2 separate regions of the Homo sapiens genome follow, and region 2 is linked to region 1. Evidence: promoter capture Hi-C in 16 types of primary human blood cells and fetal thymus (Javierre and others, 2016). All regions are on one chromosome and are shown on one strand. The core of a region is centred on a gene start or on the middle of the fragment in contact, and the rest is flanking DNA. Distances in the headings are between cores, read along the strand shown.

Region 1 (4,843 bases), core at 316-2,815:
TTTCCCGACATCAGGGGTAAAGGGAGCGGGGGTCCCTTCGCTTCACTGTGCCCCAGCTCTACCGAGAGGCAGGCCTCTGGGAAACGAGCCGGGGACCTGGGGGCCCGGGCGGCCGCAGCTTAGTGGGCTGAGGTGCCGATCAGGGTCACGCTTCGGAGCTCTGTCGGGGCCCAGCTCCCTCCTTCACACCCCAAAATGCCGCCTAGGGCGTGGGCATCCCGAGTGGCATCCGGAGCCGCTGAGACCCCGCCGAGATTGCTCCTTGTGCGTCCTCCCACAGCCGAGAGGCCAGCATCGTGCCGGGACGACCCGGGGACCCGAGTCCGGGCGCCGCTACACCGCCTCGGGCGCTAGGCCTGGGAGCTTTGAGGCCGGTACCGTGAAACACCTTTAGGAGCAAGGAGGGATTCCAGGTGTCCTCCCTTTGTACCCCAACTCCCTGCCCGGATCTCTTCCACTCTCTGCCATAGCCCCCACACACAAACTTTGTTCTGGACTTGTTCAGCCCCTTCGGGACCCACAGTTGTCGCCTCCATCGGAGAAAACAAGTGCCCCTGTTTCAGGGGGGATTCCACTCTGGCTGGCCACCCGCAAACCTGGAAAACTATTCTATGACTTCTTCCCTGACCCCCCTGGAAGTAGGGAGCACCACGATCCGCAGAGGGCGCATACCGACCAGAAAGATTTTGGGGGGCAGAGGGTGCAAGTGTTGTGGGAAGAGATGCGGAGATAAATTTTGCGAGCCAGACCCCGACACTTTCCCCGTCCGTTTGCACCGTCTCCGGAACAACTGGCGGCCAGCAGCACTCTCCACCCCGGCCGCAACCCCAGCGGGTCAGGCGCTGGCGCCCCGACACCAGTCCCCATCTTCTTGCAGCTCTGAACCTCCAAAGACACCCGGTTCTGCCTCGCAGGCCGAGGGGGAGTGTGCGTGGGGGCAGGGGGGCGCAGCGAACTCCCCCACGCTCGGAGTTCAGCCCAGCGCCCGAAGTAAACTTCCTTACCGCTGGCAGCAAGGCCGGGCGGCGGAGGCCGGGCCGGGTGCCCTGGGGCCGGCGCCGGGAGCGCTAGGGGCCCCGTGCGGTCAGGCCGGGGCGACCTCCACCCGCACCCACGCCTCATGGGGCTCCCGGGTCTTGGCCGCGGCTGGGATCCCCGGAAAAGCAGGGACGGAGAAGCCAGGCCGGCATGCCCGCCCTCCTTCCCCCGGGAGGACCCAACAACTCCGGAAAGATCCTGCCGGGAGATGTGCTCGCTTTCCCCGGGGCAGCGGGGGAAAGCCCAGCAAAGGCACATTGAAAATTAAAAAGAAAAAAAAAATTACGCCGAGTGGAAGAAGCAATCGGGGCCGCGGCGGCGGTGAGGTAGGGGGCGCGGGGGCCAGCCGCGTGTGAGTGGGTCCGAGTGTGCGTGAGTGTGAGTGCGTGTGTGTGTGTCCACGGCGCGGGCCGGAGCACTCACCATCTCGCCGGGGGAGCGAGGCCACTTCGGGGTCGGATTGGAAATGTTGAGGCTTCGCTTGCTTCCTCCGCGACATGCTGGCTCAAACATCAGCTGGGGCAGAATAAAAAATTACTAAAAAAAAATCTTCTCAAAATTACGGAAATCGAGCGGCGGCGGCGGCGGCGGCTCCCCCCGCCCGCCGGCCCGCCCGCCCCCTCCCCGGCTCCCCGGCCCCGGGCGCAGCGCGCATGTGTCCTGCTATAATTATGATTATCAATAATGCATTGCGATTAATCATAGAGGGGCTCTTTGAAAGGCGATTGGCACCGGGCCAGCGCTATTCAAACCCGCTCGCCTTAATCAATTAGTTCGTGATTTGCTGCAGACCCCTGTCTCTCCGCGCGCTGGCCCAATAAGCCGGCCGCGGGGCTGGCTCTGCGCGCCGCGCCGCCCGACACTGGGTTAACCCTCTTTGCGACCGCCCGGGACTCCGCGGCCCGGCCGCCGGGGGCCGGCCTCCTCTCCACTGCGGGCCCGGCGCCCCGGCAGGCGCCCCCCGCTCTCTCCCTCTCCCCTCCCTCTTCCCTCCCTCCTTCGCCCCCCCCCACAATCCCGGGCTGGGCCGACCCAAATTAGCATGCCCTCCCCGGAATTGAGCCGCCCCGGGTGGGGGGTGGGGCCGGGCGGCGAGGGCTGGGGACCCGGGCTGCCGGCGCGCTGCGAACTTCCCAACTCGGGGGCGAGGCGCGCCGGCCCGCGGGGGGAGGGAGTCCCGCGGCGGGATCAGGGGGGAGGGCGTCCCGTTTCGTGAGTGTTTCTTCGTTTCTTTAAGAGCTACCAGAAAGCAGCCCACCCCCACCCCCATTAAAAAAAAAAATAAGCGAGTGGGGAAGAGCCAGCCCCACGCCGGTCCGCCTCCCGCCCACGGCTCGGCCTCCCTCCCGCCTGGCTCGGCGCTCCTCCGCCCCGAGTTCTCCATCCCCTGGATCCCGGGCTCGCGGGGGCGCGGAGAAGAGGATCCAGGAAAGGTTTGGGAACCTGATGGGTTTGTGGCTGGGGGGAGGGGCAGTTCTCCCGCCACCCCATCCCCTCCCCGCCAGGGGCACTGATCCTCCAGCTTCTTGCTTGCTCCCTCGCTCCCTTTCTCTACCTCGGACATTCCCAGGACAATTAGGGCTGAAGTTTTCGGGAGAAGCAGCCCCGAGCCCGTGGGATAAGGGGGCGGCCCGGCTCCGCCCAGGACCCCTCCCGGACCTCCCCCCCGGCTGCCCCGGTTGGCTGCAGGGCGCGTCACTCCGCGGGGAGGCGGCGGCAGCGGTGGCGCCGCAGAGCCCCGGGCGGGCGGAGAGCGGGGACCGGCCTGGGCTCCGAGTTCAGCTCCGGCCGGGGGGAGGGGAGGGGCTGCGGCTCACACTGAGCGCAGCAGCGAGCACCGGCCTAGGGAGACACAGCCCGGGCGGACCCGGCACTGGACTGGGCCAGTCCCTGGGACCCCTGGGCACCCCGCCCTGGGGAGGGGGCCGCGCCCCAGCCTTCCGGGACGAGGTGGCGGCGCAGAGCCGGAAAGCGGGGTGGGGGGAGGGCGGTGGGGAGGTGTTCTGTCCGAGGCTGCCTGGCGGCGCCGAAGCTCGCCTCCACTTTTTGGGCACTTGCCGAGCGCGGCGCCCGAACTTTTCGCTCTATCACCATCTCCCTCAAGCTGAGATGCAACCTCCCTACCCTCGCCCCAGAGCCCAGAGCCAGGAGCCCGATCCCTCTGCCGGGCTCAGGCGCCCGCGAACCTGAGACTCGGTACGCGGCTCAGCCTAGCTCTTTCCCCTCGCGCCTCGGGGTCTCCTCGCTCCAAGGTTCTCGAAGTCTTGCGCCCGAAGGACTAAACTAAACTAAACTTCGGCTGAGTAATGGGGGAGGAGGGGGGTGCAGATACACAATCCCTGCCCTATCTCACGATCAGGAAAGGAGAGGGCTCATAAGGACGCCCCAATTCGCGAGCGCCCTTGAGTCTGGCCGGTGCCACGGTCGGTTCGCGCGAAGTGGGCACCGGTCTCCCGAGCCGACTTCGTGTACTCCGGACCTGTACTGCGCTCCGGTAGAGGACCCTTCCCTTTCTCTTAGCTTCTTAAATCTTTTCTTTTAAGGTGTAAATGTGTGTGTGTGCCGATGAATGTTTCTGTTTTTCATCTGCTGACTTTATTTTTTTTTATTGGTATAACTTCTCCCTTCTCTCTCCCTGCTCGTCCGTTTTCCACCTTTTCTCTTACTTATCTTCTGCCCTCGCTCACTCCCTAACACACACATTCACACCCTCTCCGCCTCGCTCTCCCGTTCTCGCCAGGTCCTGATGGGTACAGTAGATTTTGATAAAAAGACAAACGAAGCTATCAGTGGGGCTGATGTTGAAGAATGAAGATAATAATGTTTCCATAGGTGGTGCTTCAAATGCCATTATTTCTCACTGAATATTTAAAGAGATCCCTCGGCAAAGATGGATCTGCGCACTCCTGGGGTGTGAGCGGCTCGCATCTCCCAGACCCCGGGGAACGTGTACGGGAGCACGTGTAAATCCCGCACCCGCCTCCATCTCACAAACAGGGGTCCTCGCACACCCACCAATCCACACTGTCCCAGGTACACGAACGCGTTTGTGTGCACTTGCACACTCCTTTCCCGGAATGTGCCCGTGTTTGGAGCCGCCCGCATCCTTCTCTAACAATCTTGGCTTCTTGAAAGTCCGGGCCTCCCGGGCACCGCATGCAGCCAGGAACCTAGCGGAGCTGGCGGTCCCGCAAAGCTTTTCTCCTGGTGCGCGCCGCGTGCGCAGCAGGAAGCTCCCGGGAATAACTTCACACGTGTTTGTTACTTGGTCTACGTGTGATTTAAGATTAAGTGTAGGAAAAAAAAAAATTCCCCCCCCCCAAAAAAACACCACAACAAACAACCAAACGAAATGAACATGCGAAAAGCAGCTACGCGATGCTTAATTAAAAATGGGCGAGCAGAGACGAATAAATTGGGGGATCCAAACTTTAATAACTTTTTTCGTTTTTTTGCGTCCTCGACGGCGTAGAGGCGGGCGTTTCGATCTGCGCTTGGCGTCCCCCGCTAATTTCTTGTTTGTTTTCTTTCCCTCGGTGGCCCCGGGAAAGGAGATGGGAGGTGGAGGAGGGGGGGATGGGAGGAGGGGGATGGTCGGAATGGCGGGGAGAGGAGAATTGGTCTTTATTGTTGATGGCAATACATCAATTACGGGCCATTGTCTCGGTCCCAAGTTCCGTGGTTCGCTGGTGCGGGCGCTGCAGTGTCAGGGCGCTGGCGAGGCTCCGCGTGCCGCGATGCAAAGAAATACATCAATAAAAACAGAAGCAGAGTGGGGGTTATTCTTTATTTTTGTGCGGGTCGA
Region 2 (4,640 bases), core at 406-2,905, 610 kb after region 1:
GTTTGTTTATTTAGAAAGACAAAATGTTAGGTGCTCTGTTTACTTACATTTCTCAGCACTTCTTTGTCTTCCAAACCATTTTAGCTCTTAATATGGAAGTTTTATAAGTTATTTTATCAGAAAATGCAGACCTTTGCTAGTTGACATGAACACTTAGGATGAGGCTGAGTGCTTGGAAACCCCTGACTTCACCAGGAAAAAAAAAAAAAAAAAAGTAATATGTGGCATATGTTAACATCTAGGCCTGAAAACACAGCCAGTAAGAGTGGCGCACACTAAAGGAAATCACTACTTAATTCCACAAACATTTGTTTCAGTCCAGGAATGGCACTAGAAACTTTGAGCCGTCTGTCTCCTTCCCTGAGCCGGTCGGGCACACGAGGGTCCATAACGTGCGGCGCAGCGCCATCTGCTGGCAGGCCACTCCTGGCCGCCCCAACAGCCGGCAGCCGCGGATGGCTCTGAAATCCACACGGCTTGGTGCCTCCACCTTCGTCCCCCGGGGCTTCTCGCTGCTGGGGAGTCCTGACTGTACTAAAAAAAGAAAGAGAGAAGGAGATTGTGCCGGAGAGAAAAAACAGTGCTGGAGAAACCGTTTCCAAAGATCTATTTAACATGTAAACGGAGGAAGATTAATATCTCTGGAACAGTCCCCAAACGTCTTGCCAAGGGCACAGGTTTTCAGCTTTAAAGGTGAAGTTGAGTTTATTTGCATCTAAAGCAAACAGTTGTTTCTCCTCCTTTCTTTCTCTCTGTTAAACATCGTATCCTAACCATATCCTCTTTACACTCCGGCTCTGCGTGCTTCTTTATGGAGGGGAGGTCGAGTTAATGGCAGCTGTCTGGGTGTCCAGGTTAATTCATTTCCTGGCGGCGTGGCGGTGGTGGTGAGGGGGATTCTGAAGTGCTTTTGGAGACACTGGGGCTCTGTTTGCCCATCCATTCCAGGAATCAGTGGAGGGACAGCCCCTCTCAAGGGCAGAATCTGAGGATTGTGGAAATGCAATCAACACACTTATGCGTGCGCCCACACTGCTTTGAATGGGATCCCAGACTCCAGGGAACTCATCTCTGATAAATTGCAAAAGACCCAAACTAAATGGACCAAAGAAGCAGTCATTATGCTTAAGGGAGGGACCTCACTGTAACACAGAATAAAGTGTTACCTGCAATTATTTTTTAAGGTTGTGGGGGAAATCTCGGTATCCCAATTCTAACTACCCGGCCTTTTGCTAACTGACTGCAACACTGACTTCCAGCATCTCACATCCTCTTCCTCTCTCTATCTTGCTCTATCTTCCCACTCTTACCCAGTCCCATAACAAACAGGTTGGGGTGGATGCCCTCTATGTCCACATTACTTAGGGAGAAAGGGGAGGCTGGATCCATTCCTGGTTTCCACCTAAGGATGATTTGTTTAGGCCCCTGTTGTGAGGATTCTGTGATCCTTGGTGCCTGGTGGCTCACAACAGGGATTAATTGCAATTGTCTTTGTGTATGGAAGGGACTAGGCTTTTTCTTAGGGCGCTCAGCACAGCACTGCCTGCCACTGAGACGGTTCAGGGCACAGAGCTCTCTAGGCCCACAAAGAGGTCTGGCTCTCAGGACAGCCATGGGAGGGGCCTATGTCATCAGGAAAGGGCGTTGTTTTCTCCAGGGCTGCCTCTCAGCCTAAAGAGACTTTTACTCTAATGCCATGAGCTGTCCTTTTGCAGACTAGCAACCGGCTGGTGAGTGCTTTCAGGGGATTGCTTCTCTCTCTCTCTCTCTCCTTCATACACTTTTAGAAACAAATACAGTCAGAATCATTAATTATAGAATTGGAGGCCTAGGGTTGCCAGATAAATTACAGAATACCCAGTTACATTTGAATTTCAGAAAAAGAATGAATAGTGGTTTGATTTTAGTGTAAGTATGTCCCAGATATTACGTGGGGCATACTTACACTAAAAGATATTCTTTGTTTATCTGACATTCAGATTTAAGTGGATGCCTGTGTGTTGTTTTTGTTTTTTTTTTTTCCTCCCTTCCTTCTCCCTTCCTTCTTTCCTTTCTTCCTTACTTTTTTTTTTCCTTCTCAACCTGGCAACCTATTAGAGACCCTCTAGTAAAAATCTTTAGCCAGGAAACCAAAATTGGCAGAGGCAAAGTAATTTGCCCAGTTACACAGCTGGTTCGAGGCACAGCTAGGGTCAGAAATCAGGTCTAGAAATTTAGTTTTGATTCTCTCGATTAACCACACTGTCTTTGCTTCCCCAGGATAGCCAACTGGGAGCTAACGTACCACATAAGCTCACGTCATAAAACCAGTTCTTCATATAATCATTTCAGAATGATTCACGCGTGCTTCAAAGAACCATAAAGTAAAATACCATTCATCTGGAAATGCCACTAGTTTATAATTTGTGAGGTTTCCTGGCAAAGTGAATCTTTACCTAGAGACCCTTTTCTGGCTGAGGAGTCCCACAGCTTCCTTTTCTATCACCATTGTTCATGATTGTTTTAAGGACTTTGTTCTACCAAGTGATTTCACACTCTTAAGCACACAGTTAGATACAAGCAAAGAGTGTGCCAATTAGCCTCCTCTTCCTATTAAAGCAAAAGTTCTAAAGCCATTTCATCTTATCTGGATAAAAAGATTAATCTTAAAATACTCTAATATGCATTATTTCAAAGACTTACATTGGTTACCTATCTTGAGACTTCAAGATTGGTGGCAAAACTGTTATTCCATATTGTGGCCAACCTCAGGGCAAAAATGTGACCTTATATTTTGGCTATGCTGTGACCAAGTGTCCTTGTTCATGTCTCTTATGACATCTGAGCCTCACTTACATTATTTTTAAAAGGAGGGGTTAGTTCCTTATTAAGTCCTCGAGTCCATTTTGGTTCTAAAACACTAGGTTTCTAAAAATCAGACATGCACTCTGTTAACCTCATCTGTTTTTGAAGTTCCAACTGGAATTCAGCAGCAAAAATTGCATCTAAGTCTTTTGTAAGTATCCACTGTGCCCAGGATGGTGCCACAAGCTGCCTGTGCTCCCCAAAGCAATCTGGCCATCAAAACCAAAGTATAAAACCTCACACCGAGGAAGAAAAGAAAAAGGTGTTAATGAAACTAGCTGTAATGCAAAGAAAGGTCAGCTTCAGCTGCAAGCACTGAAATGAAACCATATAATTGCAAGTGGCAAAAAGGGCTCCAGGTGAGACAGGGACTTTGTTTACACCATGCCCTTCTTTTCTGCCAGTCTTATCATCTGAGTGGCTCTTTCTGGACCAGTGAAATAAGAAGCAACAGGCTGAAGATCTGAACCTTCTAGAATTAGATCCAAGTGCCCCAGCCTAACAACAGATCTCCATGAGCATTTCACAGGCTCATTATTACTGGCGAGGGAAGGTTGCAGTCAGGGGCAACAGAAAGAAGGACTGTTCTTGCAAATGATAGCAAAATCTTGTTTTGCCTGGGAACTCCCTCTTTCCCACTTGGACTTTGTGTTTTTCTAATGAATGTCAAAGAGCAGTACATGAGGCCAGGTGGAGATAGAAGAGTGATGTTTCCCTATTTTCCTTTCTTTTTTTCCTTTCTCTTTTGACTTTATTTTTAGCCTTAAAATTGCTCCTGCAGAGAAACCATTCAACACAGGTGAGACTCAACCCAGAGCCAAGGTGCTGGAGAAGCCGAGGCTGCCTTTGCTGGTGGCTTCAAGCCAGGAGAAGCTTTTGTGTCTGCTGGGTGTGGTGCCCACCAAGGAGACCAGGCTCTGACAGGACTATGCCTCCCAAAGACAAATGGATGAATTTTTTTGAAAATATAAAATCCTCATGTACTCTATTTCATGAATGGAACCAATTCAAGGACCTTGCTCTGAAAAATGCTATTCAAATTGTTTTCATTGAAATATTTTCTTGCGCCTCCACTTCATCTTTGGAGCATCCCAGGGGCTTTCCCTCTCAAGTACATGCTACAGTTTTGCAAGCTCCTTTTCTAGAATGGAGATGTGCTCTCAGGACTCTATTGGCCAAATCTAGACATAACCAAAAACCCAGGGACAGCGTGCTGGGGAGGGTGTTGACTATTCAGTGACTGAAGAATTAAGTACTGTCCTGAGAAGAAGGTAGTGACCTCACAACCTGATCAGGCAAATGCTTAGGGCTTTGTCCCTTTCTTACAGATTAGAAAGTTCCCACATTTGCCACTAATAATAACTAGTACTTATGAAGGTTTACTATGTGCAAAGTACTTTGCATCCAATTCTCATTTATAGGTACTGTTATTGCCATTTTATGGATGAGTAAACTGAGGCTTAGAAAGGTTTAGAAACTTGAGTAACATCACATTGCTATTAACTAGTAGAGGCAGAACTAGAAACTAAGTCTCATTGACTCTAACAGTCCGTCTTCTCAATGACTTTTGACAGTAATAGGTAAATTTTCAAGGCTGTGGTCAGCTATGATTGCATCCCTGCACTGCAGCCTGGTGTTGAAACAAGACCTCATCTCTAAAAAGTAATAGTAATAATAATCATAGGTAACTGTAATTGACTACCTACTATGAGCCAGGCACAATTGTGAGCACTTTATGCATTTTATTGCAATAAAACTTCATGACAACCTTGTGAGACAAGTACTACTATTAAGCC

What was found. The method cuts DNA at HindIII sites, captures the fragments that hold promoters and counts their contacts. A CHiCAGO score of 5 or more calls a contact.
Region 2: a contact is called between a fragment that was not itself captured here and the fragment with the promoter of SALL1 in region 1, in 1 of 17 cell types (endothelial precursors). The highest score is 6.8, in endothelial precursors.

What each region holds. Positions count from the first base shown.
Region 1 is chr16:51,149,705-51,154,547 of GRCh38, forward strand. SALL1 (spalt like transcription factor 1) reads right to left here and starts at 1,566. Exons shown (of 3, transcript NM_002968.3): 1 at 1,462-1,566. The coding sequence starts at 1,537. RefSeq lists an enhancer at 763-1,263. The HindIII fragment of the contact is 4,337 bases long and covers 1-4,232 here.
Region 2 is chr16:51,761,883-51,766,522 of GRCh38, forward strand. LINC01571 (long intergenic non-protein coding RNA 1571) reads left to right here and starts at 637. Exons shown (of 3, transcript NR_110916.1): 1 at 637-693. It overlaps LOC105371257 (a long non-coding RNA gene), which reads right to left. Exons shown (of 4, transcript XR_001752182.1): 3 at 48-534. The HindIII fragment of the contact is 4,119 bases long and covers 1-3,715 here.